Regions from separate parts of the Homo sapiens genome. Here region 2 is linked to region 1. The links are contacts of gene promoters, found by promoter capture Hi-C in human tissues and cell types (Jung and others, 2019). All regions are on one chromosome and are shown on one strand. Each heading gives the region's core, a stretch centred on a gene start or on the middle of the fragment in contact. The rest is flanking DNA. Distances are from core to core; before and after follow the strand shown. Region 1 holds the start of SF3A1 (splicing factor 3a subunit 1). Region 2 overlaps LOC105372988 (a long non-coding RNA gene).

The links. Contacts are between HindIII fragments. The study calls those that stand out against the background at their distance.
Region 2: a fragment that was not itself captured here is called in contact with the fragment with the promoter of SF3A1 in region 1 in 1 of the 25 tissues and cell types used here (spleen).

The regions. Positions count from the first base shown.
Region 1 is chr22:30,353,401-30,359,238 of GRCh38, reverse strand. SF3A1 (splicing factor 3a subunit 1) reads left to right here and starts at 2,345. Exons shown (of 16, transcript NM_005877.6): 1 at 2,345-2,509. The coding sequence starts at 2,447. It overlaps CCDC157 (coiled-coil domain containing 157), which reads right to left and starts at 2,232. Exons shown (of 12, transcript NM_001017437.5): 1 at 2,107-2,232. RefSeq lists an enhancer at 864-1,463 and a silencer at 2,399-2,648. The HindIII fragment of the contact is 21,616 bases long and covers 1-5,838 here.
Region 2 is chr22:30,179,752-30,185,589 of GRCh38, reverse strand. It overlaps LOC105372988 (a long non-coding RNA gene), which reads left to right. Exons shown (of 3, transcript NR_188588.1): 3 at 809-2,772. It also overlaps a transcript of HORMAD2 not described here. Among named protein-coding and RNA genes, the nearest start is that of LIF-AS1, 57 kb to the left of the region's middle. The HindIII fragment of the contact is 3,672 bases long and covers 1,423-5,094 here.

The DNA.
Region 1 (5,838 bases), core at 1,096-3,595:
AAAATAACACACGGAAGTATTCTGGGTTTCCTTCCTGGAATGGGCATGAAAGAAATAAAGAAATCAAGAAGCCCCCAACCTGGGAGAAAGTGTATTCAGGTGGCAAAGCATCTGGAATTCATAAGCTTGCTTGTGAAGGCACCAGGAAACACTGATCTGTTCACCTTCAAATAACTATAGCTGCCACATGGGGCCATCCTGGATATCAACTCCCAGTAGATCCTGGATCAGATAAGCAGCAGCAAATGCCCAAGTGTCAGGAAAATCCAAGATGACCTTATGTTGTTTCTTCTGAAAATTGAAGTCATGCAGATACAAGCATAGTTTAAGAAGTACTTTATGTGTGTGTCAAGTGAAGAAGCACTTGACGTGAGCTCTTTCTGCAATTCCTGGGTCTTGAGTGGAACCCTCAGTCTGAAGCTGCCAGCCCGGCACTGTACCCATGACCACATAGGTGACAGCACTAATTGAGCCCTTAGGGAGGAGCAGCAGCTATCTCTGCCTCTCCTCAATTTCCTGGGGCTCAAGGTGGACTTTTGACTCCCAGAGAAGAGCAGGAGCCTTTCCTGCATTTCCGTTCAACATTCAAGCGCCTTCTCTCTCTCAGAACTAGTACCCTAACCCTACTCGGTAAAGATGATGCCTACTTCCCAGCCAGGGTGCCTGGTGAGATTCAAAGCCACCACCATGAAAACACGGGAAACTCTAAAACCAGCTATGTGGCAGATGTCAGTCTCAAACATGAGATTGTTAATTGCCTGGATCCCTGGGGATACTGAAGGGACTGAGGGCAAAATAACTAACTGCACTAGTAGAGGAATAAGACTGGCTTGAACTTGCATTCCCACTCTACCAACTCCAAACTTCACTGTCCTCATTTGTAAATAGGTTGCTATAAGGAATAAATGACGTAACACATGAAGTGTTGGGCACAGTATCCGGCTCATAGTAAATGACCAATACATCCCAGCTATCATTATTCTACATTAATAACAACCATGACACACAGCTACGATGTGTGTGGGGGGAGGGGGAAGACTTGAGAGAGCAACCTTTCCTATCACTCCCTCATTTCACAGGTGAGGAAACTGAAGTCCAGGAACAGGTTCGGAGCCAGCTCCCCGCTTTCCAGAGTTGAGGAGAGGAGGAAGGAGAGAGGGGGGAATCGCAGGAGAGGGAGAGAAGCCGGCGGGATTCGAGGTAGGCCTCTGGGGAGCGAGCCGCATAGCTTGCAGGGCTGCATCTGTGAGAGTGAGGGGTGAAGCCTAAAGCAGCAGCCCTGCGTGATGGCTCATGCGTGTAATCCCAGCACTTTGGGAGGCCAAGGCGGGAGGATCGCTTGACCCCAGGAGTTTGAGACCAGCCTGGGCAACATAGGGAGACGTCCTCCCATGTCCCTACAAAAAAAAAAATTTAAAAACTGGCCGGGCGCGGTGGCTCACGCCTGTAACCCTAACACTTTGGGAAGCCGAGGCGGGCGGATCATTTGAGGTCAGGAGTTCCAGACCAGCCTGGCCAGCATGGTGAAACCCCGTCTCTACTAAAAATGCCAAAAAAAAAAAAAAAAAAATTAGCCGGGTGTGGTGGGCGCCTGTAGTCCCAGCCACTCGGGAGGCTGAGGCAGGAGAATCGCTTGAACTCGGGAGGCGGAGGTTGCAGAGAGTCAAGATCGCGCCACTGCACTCCAGCCTGGGTGACAGAGCAAGACCTTGTCTCAGAAAAAAAGAAAAAAGAAAGACAAAGAAAGCAGCAGCCTTGATTTGAGAGGGAGGCCCCCAGTGGGGCTTGAGGGCGGGACTACGGAAGGCAGGGGATGGAAGCAAGAAAAGGCAGGTTCCGTGGGAAAAGCGAATTAAGGGCGTAGGATTTGGAAGCGGGGCTTGGAGGATGTGGGTCTGAAATGAAAGGGGGGACTAAGGGAGTAGGGAAGTGGGGCTCTTAGGCGGTGAGCCTGAGGGGACAGGGGCTCTCCTAAATGAGAGACCAATGGGAGGGAGCTGGGCTCTTGGAAGGCGGGGTCGAAGGGAGCGAGGTACTGGCCTGTGGAGTAAAGGAGCCGCGAGGTGAGTGCGGCGGGGGTCCGGCGGGTGACGTACAACATCTCACCTGTCTTCGGCGTCGCGGCTTCAGCCTTCGTGTCTGGTCGGCTCCCGGAACTGCCCCCGGTGCGCCTGCGGCCACCGGGATCCCCGAAAAGCCCTAGCCGGGCGCTCAGGCCGCTGCCTTGGCAACGGCGTCGGACGCCGCGGTGCCCGCGGGGAGGGGCGGGAAGCGCGTCACGGCGAGGGGACGGTCCCGGAAGTGCGCCAGTCGTACCTTCGCGGCCGCAACTCGCTCGGCCGCCGCCATCTTGCGAGCTCGTCGTACTGACCGAGCGGGGAGGCTGTCTTGAGGCGGCACCGCTCACCGACACCGAGGCGGACTGGCAGCCCTGAGCGTCGCAGTCATGCCGGCCGGACCCGTGCAGGCGGTGCCCCCGCCGCCGCCCGTGCCCACGGAGCCCAAACAGGTACCTCTCCCCCGCCCCTCAGCCTGCAGCCGGAGGGTTGGCCTGGGCGCTCCTTACTCGCACAGGAATAAGCGGCCGGCCGCTATGAAGGGCTTGGAGGGACTGCAAGTCCCAAGAGGCTGCGCGCTTCCCGCGCTATGGTGGTGTTCTGGTAGCGAAATGAGCCACCCTGAACGGGATTCTCTAAGTGGTCCGCGGAGCAGCCCCGTCGGCACGAGCCGGGAGCTTCTTAGAAATGTGGAGTCTCCGCCGTAGATCTTTTAAATAGGAATCTACATTTGAACAAAATCCTAAGGTGATTGATTTATAAGTGCGAGAGGCGCTGATCCAGCCCATCCTCTGATCTTATGTAGCAGTTGGGGCCGCCGGCCACAGCCTTTCCCCAGTAATGGCTAATTTCCCAGCCTGCACGGTACATCTTTGGATGTTAATTCTCAGCATCTATTTCGGTGTCTGCCCCAAGCCAGACACCGTGCCAGGCTCCCACATTACCGGAATGAATGGGGCATGGTCCCTGCCTAGGGAGCTCACAGGCTAACGAGAAGACAGACATATGAGAATGCTCACCAAATGTTTGTTGTCCCAATGGCCATCGATGATACAGTGCCAGCCCGCCCTTAATAAAGCTCTCCAATCTCGAATGTGCACAAACCATTGTAGTATGGTGTGATATGCCCTGTGATAGAAGTTTCAGGTACAAATCTAATGAACATTGTTTGCTGGGCTAGAAGGGATATTAAGGTAGGGAAGCCCACAAGAGTGAGAGGTAAATTTCTTTTAGAAGAAGGAATAGGAGTTTGCCAGGTAGGTGACTAGGGAAGGGAAATAGCATCCTTTATTCATCCAGCAAATATTTATTGAACACATACGCTGATCATTGCTTTGGGTTCAGAATAAGGGGGGCGGGGGGGGGGAACATGACTGAAGAAGCCATGCCTTTTCCACAAATATTTAAGTGCCCGTGTGTCCCTGGCATTTTCCCAGGCATTGGGGGAAAATAAGGTAATAGCCAGATAATATGCGCAAAGACACCGAGGTGAATCAAACGGTGTCTCTGATCAAGAGTAAATGAACAAGTGTTGAAGCATAGACTTAGGAGCGTAGTGGCAGGAGATGCGATTCTTACTTAGGATTTGAACTTTTCCTTGTAGACAGTGGGAAGAAAAGGGAGTGTTTTAAGCCAAATAGTGACATTTGTGTTTCAGAAATTCAGGTAGGCAGACGTGTGGAGAATCACTATGAGGGGAGGCCAGTCACGCTATTCCAAAGAGGCTGAAGGCCTGGCCGAGATTAGGGCAGAGGGGGTAGGCAGGCTCTTCAGCCAGAGTGGTGTGTTAGAATCCTGGTTCTGCCAGTTGGACATTAAGCTCTCCATCTCTCAGTTTTGTCATCTGTAATGTGGAGATATTAAGAGTTCTTGGCCGGGTCCAGTGGCTCACGCCTGTAATTCCAGCAGTTTGGGAGGCCGAGGCAGACAGATCACTTGAGGTCAGGAGTTTGAGACCAGCCTGGCCAACATAGCAAAACTGTCTCTACTAAAAATAAAAAATTAGCCAGGTGTGGTGGTGCATGTTTGTAATCCCCACTATTCGGGAGAGAATTGCTTGAACCTGGGAAGCAGAAGTTGCAATGAGCCAAGATCATGCCGCTGCACTCCAGCCTGGGCGACAGCAAGAGACTGTCTCAAAAAAAAAAAGAGTACTTAATCTTATAGGCTTCTTCTAAAGGTTATAAGAGTTAATATATTTAAAGTGCTTGGGAAAAATACCTGGGATCTACTCATAGCTTGATAAAAGTTTTTTTTAAGAGACCGGGTGTCGTTCTGTCACCCAGGCTGGAATGCAGTGGTGCAGTCATAGCTTACTGCAGCCTTGAATTCTTGGGCTCAAGCAATCTTCCTACCTCAGCCTCCTGAGTCACCGGGATTATAGGTGCAAGCCATTGTGCCCAACTTGATAAACGTTATTATCATCGAGTGTGGAAGCTGAGGAAGAGAGAGGAGCCCCCAACTTTCTGGCATGGGTGACTGGGTAGCTATTCCTGAGGAAAGAGGTTAGAGATGAAAGTGCCCAGTAGTTAGCTGCACCTGAAGCTGTTTAGTACACAAGAGTGTTCTGGGACATCAGTTTGGGCCAGATTGTTTAGTCTAGAGGCGGAAGGGGAAGTGGAGGACACCAAAAACTGAGAAGAGAACCAAGAACAGAATTGGGCGGTGGGAGTGGGGATCTCCAGCTTCACAGTGCAGGAGGTGAAACGGGTCAGGAAGGAAACTTGAATGGAATGGTGAGCAAGATGGGAAGACAGGCAAGAATGGGGCCTAGGAGTTGAGAGTTTTGTGAAGGAGTGGTCACCATTCACGCCCAGATAATGGCTGTGGGCAGTTGTTTTTGACTTTGTCAAGAGCACTTAAAATGAATGGGGACCAGATGGGAGGCAGGGAAGTGGGACCAGCAAGACTGAAGAGAACTCAGGATGTTTAGCTGCCAGAGGAAGGTGTGGGAGAAGGCAGCGGCAGAAAAGAACATGAAGGCAGAGGAGAAACTTCGTTTCTCTAAGATAAGAGACTTGACCCTTTGTTTACTAAGGGGAAGAAGCTGCTGGTGAAAAAATATTGGTACTTATGGGATCGTTAGTGCTGAGCCTTCCAGTGGAATTTCACAAAACACTTGAGCATTGAATGTTGGTTAAGACAGTGGAGTAGAGGCAGAGAGGGCATTCAGGGCAGAAGAATTTGTCAGCAGATAGTTTCCCATTTCTTTATTCAGCAAACAATCATTAAAAATTCCATGCCAAGCCCATCGCTGGGTGCAGGGTTACAGACATGGCCTGGATTCTGGAACATGGTTTCTCAGAATGTAGTCGGAGTCCCTGCATCTGAATCACCTGGGCATTTGGTAATGTAGCAGGACGAGTCGCAGACAAAACTCCTCAGACACCGGATTAAAGAAGGAAGAGGTTTTTTATTCATCCGGGAGCGTCGGCAGACTCGTGTCTTAAGAGCCGAGCTCCCCGAAAAAGAAATTCCTAGCCCTTTAAAGGGCTTACAACTCTAAAGGTCTATGTGAAAGAGTCATAATAGATCAAGTAAGCGTGAGGAACGTGACTGGGGGCTACATACATCAGCTAACAGAACAAAAAGTTTTACAGTGCTTTCTCATACAATGTCTGGAATTTACAGATAACACCAGTAGTTTTGGTCAGGGGTTAATATTATTATTATTTTAACCACCAGGGCCAGGTGGTGGCACCAAGGTCGTCTAGCTATTTATCTTACTTCTGTTTCTTTCCAACTTTTTGCTTTCTCCCTTTTCTCCTGTCTTATAAACTAG
Region 2 (5,838 bases), core at 2,009-4,508, 170 kb after region 1:
TAGCTTATCCATTTTAAGAAGCACTTGAAATCTAAACAATAGTAAGTTATTGAAAGGTGGTTTATCGTCTTGTAAACTCTGTAACTTTTCTACCTCTCTACACATTGTATCATCACCATAATCTCTTAAACAGTTCATAGCATGCAAATGATTGCTTTATATACTATAATCATAAATGAGTTTCATTAATAAAAACAGCTTCCCTGTGGGCCTCATTTTGAAGGCTGAGTTGTTTCTGACTAATGCCCAAGTTTCAGTTAAGCATAAACTAGGTTCCGACGAAGCTCGCTTTTGCTCGACAGTAACCCAAATGCCTGGAGGAGGGGCCAGAGAACTGGTCCAGGCTCTCCTGGTTCCTGGGATCAGGATCTCTCTAGAACCACTGATGATGAATGGGCTGGTCCCTCAAGGGAACCCTCCATTCCTCCTCCAAACTATCCCAGAGCCCAGGCAGAGGGATCACAGGTACTGTGCCAGATTTAGAGTAGACTGTCATAACCCACTGCTTCTATCTCCTGGTTGTTAAAAACCCTAGGTGGAAAGACAGGTTCACTATCCACATTTTGCAACTAAAGAAACAGTGGAATAGAGAACTAAGAGACTTGTCCAGAAATAAAGGGAGAACCAAGATTAAGATTACAATCCAGACTTTGACTGTAATGAATATTCCATGTTACCCTGCCTTGCACCACTGTCCCATATCTACCTAGAAACCAATGAATTGGTGGTTTGCCAGTTGCCAGCACAATCCCTAGCACCACACTTAACCTGCTGTTATCTTTTTCTTCTGCTATTATCATTTCTGTAGATTTGCAGTGTGAAAATGGACCATACTGTGGAATAAGAGAGCAGAAAGTCATCTAATCTACTCCCCAGGCTTTAGGCAGCACGGTGTCAAAACCAACCTAGATTTCCAGAATAGATCGTTCTACCACCTCCTCTGGAATTTGAATGCCATCGAATGCAACCTGAGTCTATTTTCTTTTATTCTATGTTGACTGAGGACAACTATTTTCTTGTTTAAAAAAAAACCAAAACATTAAAATAGCATTTTAAGGTTAATTGACAATGTTAATAAGTGGCAAACTTAGGCCTCAAATAGAAGATGATAAGTAACTTGAAATGTTTGGAAAAAGATGATCTATATTTAATAAAACTCCATCAGTGAGTGAAAAGTTTCATTATTAGCATTTTCACTGTTCTGTCTCTCATAGTCTACAGTTATATTAGCAAACTTGCATTTCACTTTATGGAAACTTGTCTCCATTATGATTTAGTTCAATGGTTTCCTTCTCATACTATTTCAGCTAGAGAGTCATTTCATTATGCTGGGAAGTTTCTGAACATGTAATGTAATTAATTCCTTTAATAGACTCCTCTTTATGGAAGACCCATTAGTAGACATCACTGTGAATTAACATCTTAGTCCAGGAAAAAAGCTCTTTGGAGGCAACAGTGAAACAGCTAAATCTTTGTTGAGAGATGCGACCAGAGGATTTAACCGCATTCCTTGTGGTTTCAGAATGACATGCATATTCTGGGACCCACAGATAGGGAGAGATACTTGTCATTCTCAGTAATGCCCTGACCACACCAATTCTTTAACATACAGAGATAGTTCTAAATGTTATAATTTCTTAGAAGAAAACATCATGGGGTTGTGCACATTGAAGGCAGGGGAATGAAGTGAAAATCTGCCCACTGGCTAATGCCTATGAAGTAAGGCTACTGGCTTTCTTTTAACTGACAAGTTAAAAGTACACTTGAAGGCTTCTGGACAACTTCCTTCTATATCAACCTACTAAGGATTGGTCTTCCCTCTGAATCTCGATGAATAGCAATGAACTCTTTCTGTGTGGGTCTGAATATTTTCTTATATTATTTTTACATATGATCACTGGAAGCCGATTGTTCTGAGTTCAAAATTCTGACTTTGCTATGTACTAACTGTGTGACCTTCATCAAGTGATTTAACTTCTCTGTATCTTAGATATCTTATCAGAAATTGAGATAAAAGCAGTACCTGCTTCAGTTGGTGAAGAGGATTAAATGAATGAGCACATGTAGGTGCTTAATGGAGTGTCTGGCCTGGAGTAAGTGCCACTGATGTTGACTGGTATTGTGATTAACTCTGCTGAGTGGAGGTCCCACCACGGGCATGCAGGCCTGTAACACGAAAGCTGAAAAACTCTGACAAAGCAGAGGAGTTGGTGCCTGGGCCTGGGGAGGGTGGGCTGGCGGCAAAGGGACACAAGGGAACTTCTGGGGTGACAGAAATACTCTATATAGTGGTTACCCCAGTGTAAGTTAAAAAACATTCAAACAATTGTTTCCCTGATTATCCCATTTAATATACTAGTCCAGGCTCTAATCGCCTTACATCTGTATTAATGCAATAGTCTCCTGGTTGATTTTTCTGTCCCTGAGCTCTTTCTTTTTTAATTCCTCCTTGGCGTACCCATGCTCACTCCCATTTCTGGGGCTACTTCAATAATCATGCCTAGAACAGTATATGAGCCATTTGTTTAAAAGGGAGGGAAAGAAATAAATGTGCGTAAGCAAGTATGTTTGCTTGTTTATGCCTAAAATAGCTCTGGAAAGACATATGAGAAAGCGTTTATGTTAGTTCCCTATGGGGAAGGAAACTGGATGGCTGAGGGACTGGGTGGGAGGGAGGTTTTTCTTTATATATCCTTTTGTTCCTTTTGAATTTTAAATCATGTGAATGTATTACCTGATCAAAAATAAATAAATAAAAATAATAAAACCCTACCGAGTTAATCTATTCATTCAACACATATTTTATTTTTGTTTATTTGTTTATTTTTTAAAGATGGAATCTTGCTGTGTTACCCAGGCTGGTCTCAAACTCTTGGGCTCAAGCAATCCTCCCGCCTCAGCCTCCTGAGTAGCTGGGACAACAGACACACACCACTGCACCCAGCTCATTCAACAAATATTTACTGGTTATCTATCACTTGTCAGGCACATAGCAGGGTTAGGGTGTCCACAGCCATGATTGTGTTTCATTGGCAGATCCTTCATAAACTGCACGTCACCAGCCCTGTCGCTTGTTTAGCTTTAAAGCTTGCTTTTAGGAGATAGAAAGTCCACTGGTTAATCACAGTGGCCATGGCTGGCATCTGATTTAGGAAAAAACAAGGTCAGGGTCAATTATGCTACAAAGGACCTCCCTCCACATACTGAAAAGACGTAAAAAGCTGTAGAAGTGGCAAGGGTATCAGATGATACCTCATAACTAATGTTTATTGAACATTAACTTTCTATGTGCCAGCTATTCTTCTAAGTGCTTTTCCTGTATTAACTCATTGAGCTCTCACAATAGCTCTGTGAGAAAGACACTACTATTGCCCCCATTTCACAGATAAGGAAGCTGATGTACAGAGATAGCAAGTAAAACATTAAAATTGTCGAACAGAGTCATACAGCTAGTAAGTAGGGTGACCAGGGTTTGAACCCAGATAACGTCTAACTCCAGAACCCTCAGTTTTAACCACTTTGCTGCCTTTTGGAAAAAGGATTGATAAAATGTTCCTTTGCTCTAAAATCTCCATTGAAATTCAACTATTTATAGAAGTGTCACTGAGTTTTATAGCTAGAAGAGACTACAGTATTCAGTTGGTTCAATTCTTATCCGAATGGACATCTTGCACAACTAGTCTTGAACACTTCCGGTGATAAGGAACTCATTACAGCCAGAAGCAGTCACCATCTGACAGTTTTCATTGCTATCAAAAACAGTCAAATGTTGATTGCCTTCCATGTGCCAGGCAATTTGCTAGAGCATTGGGGGAAAATTCTTTAATAGGTTGAGGCCAAATCCGCATCCCTGGGATGTCCTCCCATTGGGTCTATGTTCTACGCTTTGGAACAACACAGAATGTGTCTGTGGTTACCTGCATTTTATGACAGACTTTCATAAATTTAAAGACAGCTACAAAGTTCCCTTTAAACTTTCTTCTTCCTTGTTTATTCAGTCTGTTCTCATATCACAATCCCTAGGTGAGATTCATTTTTCTAATTAACAAGCTTCTGTTTTAAAATGCAAATGTGGGAGGGCAGCATATTAAGCTTCGTCTGATGCTTCTCTCCCATTGAACTATCTTGATGGAAAGGGAGTTTCGATTTAGGGAAAGGAGTGGGGAGGGTTCTGAGAACAGAGGCAATTGGAAGCATGGTTCAAGTGCTGGCCCCAGGCTTGCACAGGCTGTTGATGTAGGAGCTCTGGGTAGGCAAAAAGCAGCATAGAAATCCAAACTCCTGAGGCCAGGTGCAGTGGCTCACACCTGTAATCCCAGCACTTTTGGTGGGCAGATAGCTTGAGCCCAGGAGTTCAAGACCAGCCTGGGCAACGTGGCAAAACCCCGTCTCTACAAAAAACACAAAAATTAGCCAAGCATAGTAGCACATGTGTGTAGTCCCAGCTACTTAGGAGGAGGCTGAGGTGGGAGAATTGCTTGAGCCTGGGAAGTTGAGGCTCCACTGCACTCCAGCCTGGGTGATAGAATGAAACCTTGTCAAAAAGAGAAGAGAAGAGAGGGAGGGAGGGTAGGGTAGGGTAGGGTAGGTTAGGGGAGGAGAGGGGAGGAGAGGAGAGGAGAGGAGAGGAGAGGAGAGGAGAGGAGAGGAGAGGAGAGGAGAGGAGAGGGAAGGGAAAGGGAAAGGGAAAGGGAAGGAAGGGAAAGGGAAAGGGAAGGGAAGAAGGGAAGGGAAGAAGGGAAGAGAAGGGAAGAAGGGAAGGGGGGAAAGGAAGGGAAGAAGGGAAGAGAAAAAGGGAAGGGAAGGGAAAGGAAGGGAAGGGAAGGGGAAGAAAGAAGGAATCCTAAGTTCCTGGAGACAAAGTGGACACGCTAAGAGTTAAAAAGCAGCCATCACGATGAGTAGTGACTATATGTGTGCAGGGCAGTTTACTTGAATCCGCTTGCTTAAATCTCACAAAAGTATGAAATAGGTGTAATTATTATTCAGATTTTATAGATCGAATAAACTGGGGGCTAGAGAGATGAAATATCTTATCTAGAAAATGAGAGGTTTTGAATCTAGCAGCCTAGGCTTTTTCTTCACTACCTTGCTAAAAGGAAGATGAAAAACTAACTTTGCTTGCTTACCCTAGAGCCAATTAGTAATTACCCATATGGAACCTAGATGCTCCAGACTTCACCAGCCTTCAGGAGTCCTGAAATACCCAAACAACAACCCCTTAAAATCCACTCTTATACCAGGTTTCTAAGTGTCTGAGACCCCAAGGAATGCTCCACTAGTGCCCCATAGATGTTTCTGGCTATCTCAAGCAGCCTGCCTCTCCACTCCTGCCATGGAAAAACCCATGCACTGCTGAACCTCATGGCACAGGTAAGTCCAGACTAAAATGTTTAATGAGCCTGGGCATGCTGGCTCACATCTGTAATCCCAGCACTCTGGGAGGCTGAGGCGGGCAAATTGTTTGAGCCCAGGAGTTTGAGACCAGCCTGGGCAACATGGCAAAACCTCATCTCTACTAAAAAATACAAAAATTATCTGGGCATGGTGGCATGTACCTGTAGTTCTAGCTACTTGGGAGGCTGAGGTGGGAGGATCACTTGAACCTGGGAGGTCAAGGCTGTAGTGAGCCATGATTGCACCACTATACTCCAGCCTGGGTGACAGAGTGAGACCATCTCAAAATAAAATAAAATAAAAGTTTAATGAGACTTTACTACTTTACTACTAAAGGATCTGGGATAACATGATGGAATTATAACACAGGAAAAAGCCCTGAAGCTGAGTAAATCAGCCTATTACCAGAAACGCTGGCCAATCCCTTTCTCAACATCCTCT